2 separate regions of the Homo sapiens genome follow, and region 2 is linked to region 1. Evidence: promoter capture Hi-C in human tissues and cell types (Jung and others, 2019). All regions are on one chromosome and are shown on one strand. The core of a region is centred on a gene start or on the middle of the fragment in contact, and the rest is flanking DNA. Distances in the headings are between cores, read along the strand shown. Region 1 holds the start of SEMA5B (semaphorin 5B). Region 2 overlaps PDIA5 (protein disulfide isomerase family A member 5).

The links. Contacts are between HindIII fragments. The study calls those that stand out against the background at their distance.
Region 2: a fragment that was not itself captured here is called in contact with the fragment with the promoter of SEMA5B in region 1 in 2 of the 25 tissues and cell types used here (H1 embryonic stem cells and pancreas).

Annotation. Positions count from the first base shown.
Region 1 is chr3:123,024,093-123,030,894 of GRCh38, reverse strand. It overlaps SEMA5B (semaphorin 5B), which reads left to right and starts at 3,132. Exons shown (of 23, transcript NM_001031702.4): 1 at 3,132-3,431. RefSeq lists an enhancer at 2,021-2,528. The HindIII fragment of the contact is 5,774 bases long and covers 774-6,547 here.
Region 2 is chr3:123,136,729-123,143,530 of GRCh38, reverse strand. All of the region lies in intron 11 of PDIA5 (protein disulfide isomerase family A member 5), which reads right to left. Among named protein-coding and RNA genes, the nearest start is that of MIR7110, 22 kb to the left of the region's middle. The HindIII fragment of the contact is 5,721 bases long and covers 1,452-6,802 here.

The DNA.
Region 1 (6,802 bases), core at 1,883-4,382:
GAATTTTCTTTTTTCTTTGCCATCCCCAGGCACAATGAGCAGGCAATTCTGGGAGCAGAAAACAATTTGGACATTATACGTGCTGTCTTTTTATTTTCAATTCTCTGTCTCCTATTAGTATATGACTGGCTGTTTGCCTTTTGCTGCAAGACAAGGTTTGTGTTTGTGCCTGGGCTATGCACAAGCATGTGTACACACACACACACACATAGAGGGGAGAGAGAGAGAGAGAGAGAGAGAGAGAGAGAGAGAGAGAGAGAGAGAGAGAGAGATGGCCTCTTGGGAGAGCCTGCACTCATTTTTTAGCTTTATCTCCCAGAAAATGCCCTCAGGTGGGAGGAAGAAGACAGTGTTGTGCTCCTAGCTTTTCCACCCTTTCCTGCTCTTGAGCATGAGAATTTGGATCTATTTCTTAAACTCTTTCAACCTTAGTTCAAGATAAGTTTGGAATTTCTAGGTCAAGAGTGAATCCTAAAAACTCCGTCACCCCCTATATTCACCGCTCTTTAGCTTGTTTGCTTGAGATAACACTGTGTTAATTACTATATTTCCATTCTGCTTAATTACAATGTTTCGGTAGAAGAAGAATTGCTCCTAACAGAAGCAATTATCTTATAGGTTATTGCAAAGGTCTAAGGAAGGTGGCAGAAGCTGGTTGTGATACTGTGGTGATGGAATCAATGCTCCAGGTTTTGTTCCAAGTAAATGATTCAGAGATTCTAACCAGGCTGGGTTTGCCAAAGAGCAGGTGGTAAGCCAGGCCAGTAAAGAAACTGTCTCTTCCGGAGGGTTGGGCTTCTGAAGCTCTCTTGTATTGAGAGCTCTTGAGTAATCACTGTTAATCAATACAATGCTTTAGGATGCAATTAGGATTAATTAGCCCAATGTTGCTAGCTGCCCTGCTACTTGGTCTGTCTCTTTGGGTGCCTCCTTGTCCTGGCTCCTGCTTCCCCTGAAAAGGAAAATTTCCCTCTTTGTGTCCCCAGCCTGGAGTCTCCTCTCTTCCCTTCCTGTGCCAAGCCCCCAAACCCCCTCTCCACTTTATAACATGGAGAGGGAGAGCCAGGAAAGGCCTTGACATGATAGTGGGAAGAAAAGAATGAACACAATCAAAACATGGTAGCAAACAAGAGGGCAGGTGAGAGAATGTGTGAAGGGTGGAGAATATTTTGGTTATCTTTCAAGGGAGAGCTGTGGCTGACAGAGCCACTCAGAAGGCATTTTGTCTATTCTCCCAACCAGACAAATTGGAAGCTCTCCTGTTCATTCCCTGGTCCTGCAGTATGGAATAGCTTCGTGGTTTTTTGTGTTAATTAAAAGGTATCTCTATATTGCACATACTTCTATTTTTTGTGATGACAAAAACATTCCCCATGGCTCTGCAGGGAATGGGGGTTGGGGGGGGGGCACGCTCATTGCAGTGGAAAGGTTCCACGGTGGAGATCAGGAGACCTATCCCTATCTCAGCCTGGGACTCTGGGAGAATGGTCCAGAGCTCATTGTCCTTGTTGATAAAATGATAGATTTGGACTCAATATCCCATGCTGCCTCTTCCAACTTGATTTTTACCCCAGACTGGGCTACCAGACTGGTATGCCCACACATGCCCGTTTCCTTTCTTTTCTTCTCTGCATCTCTGCCTTTGTGTCCAGAGCGTGTTTTCCCTTTGCAAGTTTCTCTCCATTCTGCACATTATGAGTTTCAGCATTTCTGTTGCCCTAGAAAGTCTATCTTTGAGATCTTGCACTGTTTCTCTTTTTACAGTGTCTCATAAACTCCCTTCTTGGATTCAGAACCACCCTTTCTTTCCCATTATCCTGTCAAACTGCTTCTTGCCATGGTCCAGGGGTAGGAGGATGGCAGGCAGGAGGTGCTTCTCTGGGGCTCTTAGTGTCTCAATTCTTCTGCTTTATCTGGGTTTTCCTTTACCCAGAATTTTATTATGTAAAATGCTTCACTCAGACTTTGTTCTAATTATCCAATTTTTGGCATACTCTAGAAAGTCTTTTGATATTTTCCTTCCTCCAACTTATCTATTTTTATTTCATAGTTCTCTTTGGTTATCTCTTAGAATCACACTTTCCTGGTTTTAATTTTTCAAATCCTTTGTCTTTCTCACTCGTTCTTAGGTCACCTTTTTTTACATTTTCAAATATATTTTTTGTTCAGCAGAGGGCTCCCTTCCCATCCCTCTTGCAGCCCGGGCAGCTAGGATTTGAAGCTTGCCCCTTGAATCTTTCTCTCCCGCCTTCTAGCCATCAGAAACACTAGATCACTTAAACTTGTAAACAATTCGGCCTCGCTCCTTGTGATTGCGCTAAACCTTCCGTCCTCAGCTGAGAACGCTCCACCACCTCCCCGGATCGCTCATCTCTTGGCTGCCCTCCCACTGTTCCTGATGTTATTTTACTCCCCGTATCCCCTACTCGTTCTTCACAATTCTGTAGGGTGCGTATTACTAACCCCAGTTTACAGCTGAGGAAACTGAGGCTTGGAGAGGTTCGCTCGGTATCGTACAGTTTGCAAGGTTAACCCTAATCCGGCCAGTTCTGGCTTTCCAGCCCAGCCCAGCAGCCTAGCCTCCCTCTCTGCCGCTGCAGGTTATAACGGCTCTCCCCCGTTTTACACGAGGTCCCTTCCCCTTCAAATCCACAGGCAGGAAGATCGTTCCGAACTGACGGGGCTGGGGAATGTGGGAGTCCGGAGTGGGGTTTGGGGGAGCTTCCTCAGGCCCTGAGTGTTGGGGTGGGCAGGCCGCGCCGATGGCCCTCGGGGATGTCACATTCGAGATGGGGTGACCGAGAACGGCAAGGCGGGATGTGGCAAACGGCGGCAAGTGCTCGGAGTCCTAGGTCTTGCCGCCGGAATGCCGGCCGGGGAAGGGGCTTCGGCCCACCGGGCTGGTCACCACACTCGGCAGGCCCGGGGCGGGAGTCGGCCGAGCAGCCGCGGGATGCAGGGCGCCCCCTCGCGCTCCTCCGCGCGCCTCGAGGCTGGCGGGTGCAGCGCCCGCCGCGGCAGGTCTGCTCCAGCCCCCTCCTCTTTTTCGCTCCCGCTCCCCTCCTTCTCTCCCTTTGCTTGCAACTCCTCCCCCACCGCCCCCTCCCTCCTTCTGCTCCCGCGGTCTCCTCCTCCCTGCTCTCTCCGAGCGCCGGGTCGGGAGCTAGTTGGAGCGCGGGGGTTGGTGCCAGAGCCCAGCTCCGCCGAGCCGGGCGGGTCGGCAGCGCATCCAGCGGCTGCTGGGAGCCCGAGCGCAGCGGGCGCGGGCCCGGGTGGGGACTGCACCGGAGCGCTGAGAGCTGGAGGCCGTTCCTGCGCGGCCGCCCCATTCCCAGACCGGCCGCCAGCCCATCTGGTTAGCTCCCGCCGCTCCGCGCCGCCCGGGAGTCGGGAGCCGCGGGGAACCGGGCACCTGCACCCGCCTCTGGGAGGTGAGTCCCGGGAGCCCCGGGCGCTTCCCCTGCGCGGGTTGGGGCTGCAACTTGCAAACTTCAGCAACTCGGGTGGGTATCGGGGTAGAGAGGTAGGGGTCCGGGCTCTGGCAAGTTGAAGCCAGGTAGGTGAGGCTGCGGGCGGGAGGACAGGGGGTCCCCTGGCTTCCGCGCCTCCCGCTGCCACCTCGGCTTGAGAGCCCTCATCGCTGCTGCGTTCCCGCCGCCAGCCAGCTTGGGTCCGGGTTGCACTGGGCCCTGCCAGGGCTGTGGTCGGCGCATCTGGGCTGCAGCGGCGATGGGGACCCGGGACCCAGGCCTGGAGAAGGAGACGGACGAGTGAGGCTGAGGGACGGAGGGACAGAGGTGCGGAGATGGAGGCTCAGAGAGGGCCGGCTAGTAAACAGCACTGAGGGAGAGTGCGGGCGGCGAGGCGCGTGGGAACGCGTGGCCCGCCCAGAGTGTGAAATCTCCCGCTCAGGGACGTCCCTGCTCCACCGCCGCCGCCTGCGGAGCCGCCGCCCGGATTCTTCCCAGACCCGCCTCCAGGACACTCTTGCCCTGACCAGGCCTGCGGAGCGTGAACTCTGCCCACCAGGCTCCAGGGGCAGTGGCTCAGGGCCCCGCACTCCCGGCTGGGAGGGTGGAGAGGGGTGCGGCAGCTGGAAGCAGGGACGCGAGCGGCGATTTCCCGATTTATGTTTCTCATGGTAATTTGTCTTTGTGGTTGGGGCTGCCCATTCACTTTCCGCTCACGTCCTGCGGGAGATCCAGCGAGGAGGGAGGGAGCGGGGGGCGCTCGGGCACAGAGAGGGATGCAGACGGGAGAGGGGATCGGGGACCCGCGCGGGGCGGGAGCCAAGAGGGAAGTGGTCGCCGGACCGGCGGAGGAAGAAGGCGAGGCTCGAGAAAACCCGGCCCAACGGAGCCGACTCCTTTGCCCACCGCAAACTTTAAACAAGGAGGAGGATCACCTGCAGCGCCGTTCTGGCCCCCTCCTCCCCGCCCCCGCCCCCCACCTCGAGCCCAGTCTTTGGGTAGTTCCGACTGCCCGCCGCGCCAGGCGGGAGTGGGCCGAGAGTCTGGATGGGGAGAGAGGAGCGCTGGATTCTGCCCGCACCCCTGCGATCCTGCCCAGGCTTTCTGCAGAGGGGCGGGGTGAGAGCAGCAGGAGCCGGGAGGGCGGGCTACCCTGGCATGCACTCCTTCCCGGCCAACGGAATTGGGACTGAGGGTTTGGAAGCTTGCCTGTGTCTAGACCTCACCACGATCCTACCTTCTCTGGCCCTAACCCCATCTTTTTCCTTCAGCCCCTAGTGAATCCGACCTCCTTCCGCTTTTCTCAGGCACCCCAACCCACTTCGGCCTCGGGGCCTCTCTCCACAGCCCTCCCTGCCTGCTTGCTCCTCGGCCTCCCCACTTCAGCTCATCTTTTTAAGCCTGTTCTCTTCTTGACAATCAGCAGTGGCCTCTCACCTTTTCTAAGCCGGGACAGATGACCTTGAGGAAGGGGCAAGAGGGGAACTTGAACCTTGTAACTGGACCTCAAGATTACGGAAAAGGGGGGCAGATTTGAAAGCAGCTTGGAAAGAAACAGCCAGTACCTTTCCCGAAGTCTAGATTTTCAACGGAGGAGGAAAGGAGATAAAATATAGGAGAGATGGGGGAACTTGCCACTTGGTCACTCATGGGGCGGTGAGAACTGTTCTGGGCCTTGGGGCGTGGGGGTAGACCACTCGGGGCAGGGCTGCCTCTGGCTTGCTGTGTTGGGAAAGGTGTGTGTAGGTGAGTGTGGGTTTCAGGGGGAGCTCTTTTCTCCATATCAACACCTATCACCACCAGTTTGGGAAGGAATGGCAGATCTTCCATCCCTTTTCTTTTTCCAAGCAGCCAGTGCCAGAGCCTTCCTCCTCCAAAGCCAACAGTAGCGACCATAATCATCACCGTGGACATCTAACACTGTTTAAGCACCTACTATGTGCAATGCACCATGCTAAATGCTGGTAGATAAAAAGAGGTACAGGGCCGAGCCCATGCCCAGAGAGGTTAGTAAGTTCACCAGTTTGATCCTGAGACACTTGTCTATGTGTTTGGGGAGGGAGAACATGGAGAGGAACATGCAGTGGCTGTACAGGCAGCAAGGTGCCTGATGACCCAAGGGTTTAGGAGAGGAAGGGTTAAAAAAAACTCGATGACTCAGGTGGGACAGAGAGCTGGGCTTATTGACTCTGCCCTGAGATAGGACAGCCAGCACCTCCTTTCCCACTAGGGAGGGGAAAAAGTTCCTTTACCACTTCTAGTGCCAGACTAGAAAACCAGAGAAGCCGAGAGGTCCAGCCCAACACTGTAGATTGCTACCTCCCCATTAGGACTGGAGGAGCCCCAGAAACTTTCTTGTCTTAGGATGAACTTCCTGGCTTGTTTGAAAGACCCTACAGTGGTCACTTCTTATTGAGACTCAAAGCTGGGAGAGGCCCTGGAGATTGTCCATGTCAGGGGAAGCACAAATTCAAATGCCTACAGAGGGCAGGCAGGTCACAGTGTGTTGATCAGGCAATTAGAGTGGCCCAGCTTATGGACAATTGGGAGTTCAAAGCCAAACTGGCCAAGTGAAATGATCCTAACAAAATCAATTAACAGCCTTTAAGTAGCCTGACCCCTTATATCTATAGATAAAGATATTAAGATTCTAAGAAGTGAGCTCATCTGCCTTGGATATACATGTTATCTTGTCTCCCTGTACCTTGGGGATTGACTGGAATATCTCATGGCCTGGTTCTACCTCTGACCTGTTGGGCCCTTGGCTCACCCTCATTCTCAGGGCCCATTAAGATTCTTCTGTCAGATGATAAGTTCCTTGAGGGAGCCATCTTGTTTTACTCAAATCTGAGCACATCACATCCATTGATATAAGGTTCCACATGCAGAGCAAAGACTGGATTCAGATCTCCTGTCCCCATTCCCACTGGGAATCCAGTGGGTGTAAACCAATTTTATTTTTTACAAAAAAGAGAAAATTCAACCATAACTTTTTGTTTCATCTAATGTAGCAATAGGGTTAGATGAGATAAGACTAGAAGCTCACATTGGATGTTTGCAGATTCCAAGGAACATCCAGAAAGCCCTGATGCCTGAGTGGGGATCTAAAAAGAGGGATGGGAACCCATCAAGGGGATAGAGGAACAGCAGACATTTATGGATGGAGTATGTGTATTTAGGAAGATGATGCTATTGGGTCCAATTATTTGAACACTGACCATAACACTCCCGTGCTTAGTCTTGGTCACCCTCTTATATCCAATGATCTGAGTTAGCAACTCATTACCAGCCAACCAGTTCACCACTTTCATTGATGACTGAGGTGGTAGAAT
Region 2 (6,802 bases), core at 3,063-5,562, 110 kb before region 1:
GAGGAAGAGCACTCCACCTGCCCTGGCAGCCCCAGGGGAGCCGGCAGCTGCTTGTAGCCCTATTACATATTGTACCCACACTACACACTCATCATGCTGGGCTCTAGGTACCAGACAGTGCCTCTCTTTTTTTTTTTTTTTTTTGAGATGGAGTCTCGCTCTGTCACCCAGGCTGGAGTACAGTGGCACACGATGTCAGCTCACTGCAACCTCCGCCTCCTGGGTTCAAGTGATTCCCCTGCCTCAGCCTCCCGAGTAGCTGGGACTACAGGCATGTGCCACCACGCCCAGCTAATTTTTTGTATTTTTAGTAGAGATGGGGTTTCACTGTGTTAGCCAGGATGGTCTCGATCTCCTGACCTGTGATCCACCCACCTTGGCCTCCCAAAGTGCTGAGATTACAGGTGTGAGCCACCATGCCCAGCCCCAGATGGTGACTCTCTAAAGGTGGGACCTGAGGTTTTTTTTTACCTTGTACCTCCCCATGAAGCAAAAGGATCACCATTTAATAGATACATGATAAATATTTACTGGTCAGCAATGAAGAGACCTAATTAAATAATTAGTAGACAACTCCTGGGTTGACCAGGGGCTTGAGAAGACCTCCTGGAGGTGGCAGATGAAAGGACACATGTGGGCAAGTTAGAGACAGAGGACAGAGGACCCAGTCAGGAGGGCAGGGGCAGCCTCAGAGAAATGAGGACGTCCCCATGCTCAATTCAGCAGTGCAGAATTCCGCTGCCAGGGCTGAGCAAGGCACATAGCCCCAAAAGTGCTCCTAAGGGCTCCTCTGGGACTGCTGAGCTCGGCCCCCCCAGAGGCTGCCCCTGGGCTGGGCAAGACAGCCTGGCTGTTCCTGGCCTTGTTCTCCACAGCAGATATTCTTAATGTCCCCTGCAGTCAGACATTGTGGAGATCATGATCAAAGTGGTAAACCCTTCTTCCAGAAAAATGCACATAGGGTTAGATGACTTTGGGAGTTCACGGTCTGACTAGACCCCACTTGGGATCCCCCCATCATAAGCTGTAGAGGTATCAAGGTCATCATTATTTTGAATGACAAGAATATCACTTTCCAGAAATGAACATTTAGCATCATCATGAGCCATGTGTTACCTAAATAATCCAGTCACAAAAGGGTTGTTTTGGTAAGTTGGCTGTTTGTTTTCCCCTCAGAAACAATTTTACACACCGATTACATGCAGATTCCCAGGGGCAACCGCAAAAGCCCATTTAATAGGATGCACCTGAAACATAAAAGCACGCAGTGCTATTTGTATTTCCCTGAGCCTGCTCCCAATGGGACAAGTGCAGCCCGCGATCCAGTGGGGACAGCAGGCAGGCCGCTCCCTCTAGGCAGCGACCCCCACCTCAGCAGTGAGAGGAAGAACTCCAAGAGGGACCAGGGAGAGCTGGGGCAGGAGTCTGTGCCTCCCAGGCACTGACATTCTTGAGATTGTCACAAAAGCCTCTCCTCCCCTTCCCCACACTGATGCATATACTCCACATGTATGTACAATTCCAGAGGGATCCTGGACTACCTGAACTTGCTCACAGAACTGGGGTTAGGAGCCCAGGACAAAGGAGACCACCGGACTCCAAGCCAATCACTGTCCAATGGGAGGCAAAGCGGAAGAACACGGAGAGCTGATGCACAGGGGCCCAGGCTTAGATGTCTTTCCACACTGGCCCACATGTCAGGAGTAAATGGAATAATCTGCAGAAGGTTCTACTGACTTAATATGAGGTATATTAAGATTAAAAAATTATTTTTTTGCTTCTCACTAAAATAGAGTGGAGTAAACCATCCTTTGGGGCCACGGTCAGGATGAAAAAGTTCTACAGCTCTTAAAGGGATCTCCCTGCCCCGGGGGCAACCCCAAGCTGCTGCTCCCTGCACCTGTCCAAGGTGAGCCCCCCACTCTCCTGCTTTCAGGCTGACCTCCCCTGACTGGGGCAGAGTGAGGGGGCTCACCCTGCATGAACAAACTGCAGGAGAAGGAAGCTCAGAGACTCTCCTGTGGCGGTGAGTCTATCGCCCGAGAGTTCAACCTGCTCTGGAGAGATGTGAGTGGTCCATGCAAAGTCCCCAAAGGTCCACTGCCCTGAGACAGACTGACTCAGCCCAGCAGCACATAGTGGAGGACACACTGGGAGGCCTCGGGAAATGCAGGCATGAGGCCCTGGGTGGCCTCCAGGGAGGTGGGAGAGGCAGGAAAGAGAGGCTCCCTTGACCACTCTCCCCATACCCTCCATGATATGGATGGTGCTGTTAGGCCAGCTGCTGGCAGGGCCCATGGTCAAGATGGACAGTGGGACTGGAGTAGGAATCAGGGGAGGGAAGACAAAGAAAAGCCAGCCATTGCCATTCACTGAGAATCACTGTTGCTTTCTAAAGTGACCCTGTTGATGTGGCAGGACTCCTGAAGATGAGAATTCACTGTGTGCTGGTAGGGAGGTTTACTTCATCCCTTTATCAGGCTCCAGGCCTTTGATGCCACTGCCCTGCCAGGGTGGCAAGTGGGTTTCATTCCACCTGCCAGCTTCCATCAGCGGTGGGCCTGAGACAGAGGCTGAGTCTGAGAACTCGCTCACTGGGAAGAGGAGCTGTGACCAACTTGCAACGTCTGCCACAGGCATGGGAAGCCAGCTGGGGTCAATACCAGGAGACCTCCAGTTTCCGCAGCTCGCACACATGGCTGTCTCCTGGGCTTTGGCCTCAGCTCCCAGAATTCCCCACCTCTATAAGGAAAGCACTCGCTGTCTGTGCTGGGCTTCCACACTCTATCGCAGCAGCCCCACCAGACACATGACACAGCTCAGTAGGTCCGTTTTACAGTGCCAGAAATTGTAGCTCTGGAAGACGAAGTGACAAATCCCCCAGGGCCATCACCACCTGCCACCTCTTCCTCCCAGCCCCTGCTCTGATGGATAGGCAACATCCACCCTGGACAACCCCTCGCAATCCTACCTTTGTTCTGGCCCCTGCTTTGAGTCTTCCCAGTTCACTGTAGCCCCATCGAATGATCTGTCTCTCTTCTAATTACAAAATACTTCTTATTCAGATATTTCTATGGCATTTAATTTTGTGTTGCTTTGTGACTGTGATATTGCTGTCTTCTGATATTTAAGGGCAGCCGGGGTATATTTTCAAAACATCAATCAGATCAGATCCCTTTGCTTAAAACTTTACAGTGGCTTCCTATCACAGGTAGATTCAAATCCAAACTTATTATGGCTACAGACCCCACACAAGCTGAGTCCTGCCTACCTTCAACCTCAACTCAGGTCACTTCTACTGCAGCCTCTGGCTCTCCTCTTCTCCCAACACACCAAGTTCATTTCTACCCCAGGGCCCTGGAACATGTTCTTTCCTACCCACCTGGAGCATACATACCAACATCTTCCCCCAGGTCTGTATGCGGCTTACCCCTCTTTACATCAGCCACTCAGGCTTCCACTCAAATTTCACCTTCTAGGAGACCCTCCCTGACCACCTATCCCAAAGGCGCCTCATGCTATCATGCCCTCTCCCAATATCCTGTTTTATTTTCTCAATTGTACTCAAAGCAGCTGGAGTAATCTGCTCACTTGTTCCCTGCCCATCCCCTCAACTGGAATGGAGGCTCTGTATGTGCAGGCAGGGGCTCGGCTGTCTTGTCTAATTGGCCACCATATTCCTGATACTGACCACGCTGCTCCACACGCTTTCTGAATGAATTAGCCTCATGACTTGTTAGGTTGTTAGGTTTACACCTGTACACACAAGGTTTGGCAGGACTAAATTCTTTATGGGCAAGGGTCATGGCTTGCACTCAAATAGTCGTTAATTTGACTAAACACCTCTAATTAGTAGAACTGGCAACCAAGCCAGTTACTATGCACATCCCCTCTCCTCTCCTCCCCACTACCATCTTTGCGCCTCCTCTGCACCTCACTAGGAGAAAAGTGTCTCCCAAAATCTCTAACATCTAAGGATGCTGTTCTAAAGTTTCCCATACATACCCTAGAATTCTCTTGATATTGTTAAGGTTTTCAATTCTAGCATCAATTCCCTCTGACCCTGAATAAGACACTAAGGCTAAGCAATAAACTTCTGCAAACAGAGTTTAAGATGAGGAGCCTGGCCAGGCCCAGAGGAGGAGAAAGGTCTGGCTGAGAAAACACCTCCCTTCCAGACACCCTCCTGTCTTGGGGAGCCGTGGGTGATGGATAGAGCTGGCGGTGACCTGAGGACCAGCCTCCTGGGCCTGGCCTTCATGATGTCCCTGGCTGTGGGACAGTTGGAGGAGGAGGGTTACATGCAGGGAGCGGGACTCCGGCCCACTGCATTTTGTGTCCTGATTGTGATTTGAGAGGCCATTAAGTTTTATTGCTAAACTTCCTTGTTGGGCTTTTATCATCTGTGTAAGTGCACTTACTCCGATTTCCGTGATCTGGCATAGAGGTCTGCACATCAACTCCTTGATCATGCTCTTTTCTGGCTGTGGGAATGTTGGCTTCCTGTCAACCCAAAGCCCTCGGATTCGTCTGGATTTCATTAAATTCAATTATACTTATGATTTTACTACAGGCCAGCTATAGGGCTTTCCTGGATGCTGGAACCAGAATTTCCCAGAGGACCAGATTAATCTGTAAAGCTCCCTGGTAGCCAGGGTACTGGGGTAGTACTTGGGCCTCTAGAAGAGCCTGGTTCCTGCCTTGCTTGGAATTTGGCTTGGGGCATGCCAGGGAGGGAGGGTTTCCTACAAATGCCAGCAGAAATACGGGCGTGGAGGGGCCTACAGAGACCTCAGAGCTCTTTTAAGGCTTCCAAACGCATAAGCACCAAAGTGGACTCCTTGACAGTTACAGGCATCTTGGGGCAGACTCACACACTCACAGATGCCTCTATTCATCACATGACCCCTCTTCTTATGCAAAGAGTTTGTTTTTTCCTTTATGTTAGCACAAAATGTGGATAAACAAGCTTTTAAAATTTTACTTCTAGGTTCCTATCCTAAGGAAATAATCAGACATGTAGACAAATATTTTTGCATTAAAATGTTCTTTGCAGCATGATTTATAATGGGAAATATGGTAAACAACTCAAACCTTCAACATTATGATGCTAGTTAACCAATTTACAGTGTCATTATATTCTACAGCAGAATATTATGTGGCCACAAAAAGCACGTACAAAAAAAAGCATTTTTAATAACATATGAAAATACCTACAAGATAATGTTAAGGGGACTATGTAAAGGAAAAAGATGCATAGAAAAGACTTAAATAAATAAAATTAGGGCCAGATGCAGTGGCTCATGCTTATAATCCTAGAACTTTGGGAGGTCAAGGCAGGAAGATTGCTTGAGGTCAGGAGTTTGAGACCAGCTTGGGCAACATAGTGAGACTCCACTGCTATAAAAATTTAAAAAATTAGCCAGGCGTGGTAGTGTGTGCCTGTAGTACTAGCTACTTAGGAGGCTGAGGCAGGAGGATCACTTGAACCCAGGAGTTTGAAATTGCAGTGAGCTATGATTATGCCACTGCATTCCAGCCTGGGTGACAGAGTGAGACCCTGTCTCAAATCCCTTCCTCCCACCTGGCACAATAGACAAATGAAAAATAGAGATGAATTAAAGAAAGAAATTAAAAAATAAAAACATTATAACAAAATATAGGGCACTATTTTAATATCCTAAGGGAGAATTTCCTAAACAACCCACAAATCCCAGAGGTCAGGATGGGAGAAGGCAGACTTGCAGAATGGCTCAGTGGTTAGGCTGTGGCCTCTGGGACAGCCTGGGATTTCATCCTGGCTGCACTTTTTGGCTATGTGACCTTTGGCACGTTTCTTGACCTCTTGGTGTCTCCCCGTCCTTACTTATAAAATGAGAATAATTAATCATGACATCAAATTCACGAATTTTTTATGAAGACTAAATCTGTTAAAATATGGAAAGTACCTAGAACAACGCCTGATCCATAGTAAGTGTGATCAGTGACCAATAAATATAATAGCTATTACTCAGCTACAAAGGATGTAAAGCTTTGTACAATGAAAGGCACCATAAACAAAATTAGAGCAAGAAATAGACTAATGGAACATGGAAAACACAGAAAACAGATAAAGATTAATATCTATAATTGTAGAGTTCTAGGTCAAGAATAAAAAGACAAATAAATAAAAAGACCTAGCAGAAAAATGAGCAAAGTGTATGAATAGGTGGTCCATGGAAGAAACATGAAAAGCTGATTATCACATGAAAAGATGTCCAGCTTCCCTAGAGGTCAGATAGCTGCAGACAAGTTGCTGTTTTGCCGAGCTTAGCAGAAATATAAAAGGCAGATAGTATCCATGGCTGCAAGGACAAAGGCTCTGTCACCCGCTGGGTTTGGGAAAACCTTTCTGTAGGGCAATTTGGTAGCATCTGCCAAAGCTCAAGCTTACTTACCCCAGGGCCAAGGAAATTCACTTTTAGGAATTAATCAAAAATATTTACACATTTTCCCAATTATATATGTTTACCAATGCTCACTGTATTGTTTGAATAGTGAAAAACTGGAGATAAATACAATACCTATCAGTAGGGGAATGGTTTAAAATTTCTGGCATATCCAAATTATAAAATACTATTCAATGGTTAAAAAGATTGAGGTAGATTTATGTGCCAATATCTACATTTACATGAAAATATCTTCGAGACCTATTGACAAGTTAAAAAAAGCAAATCACAGAAGAATGGATAGGAAGTAGTCCTACTTATGTTAAAAAACAAAAACAAAAAACCCAACCCCCTTTTTTTTTTTTTTTTTTTTT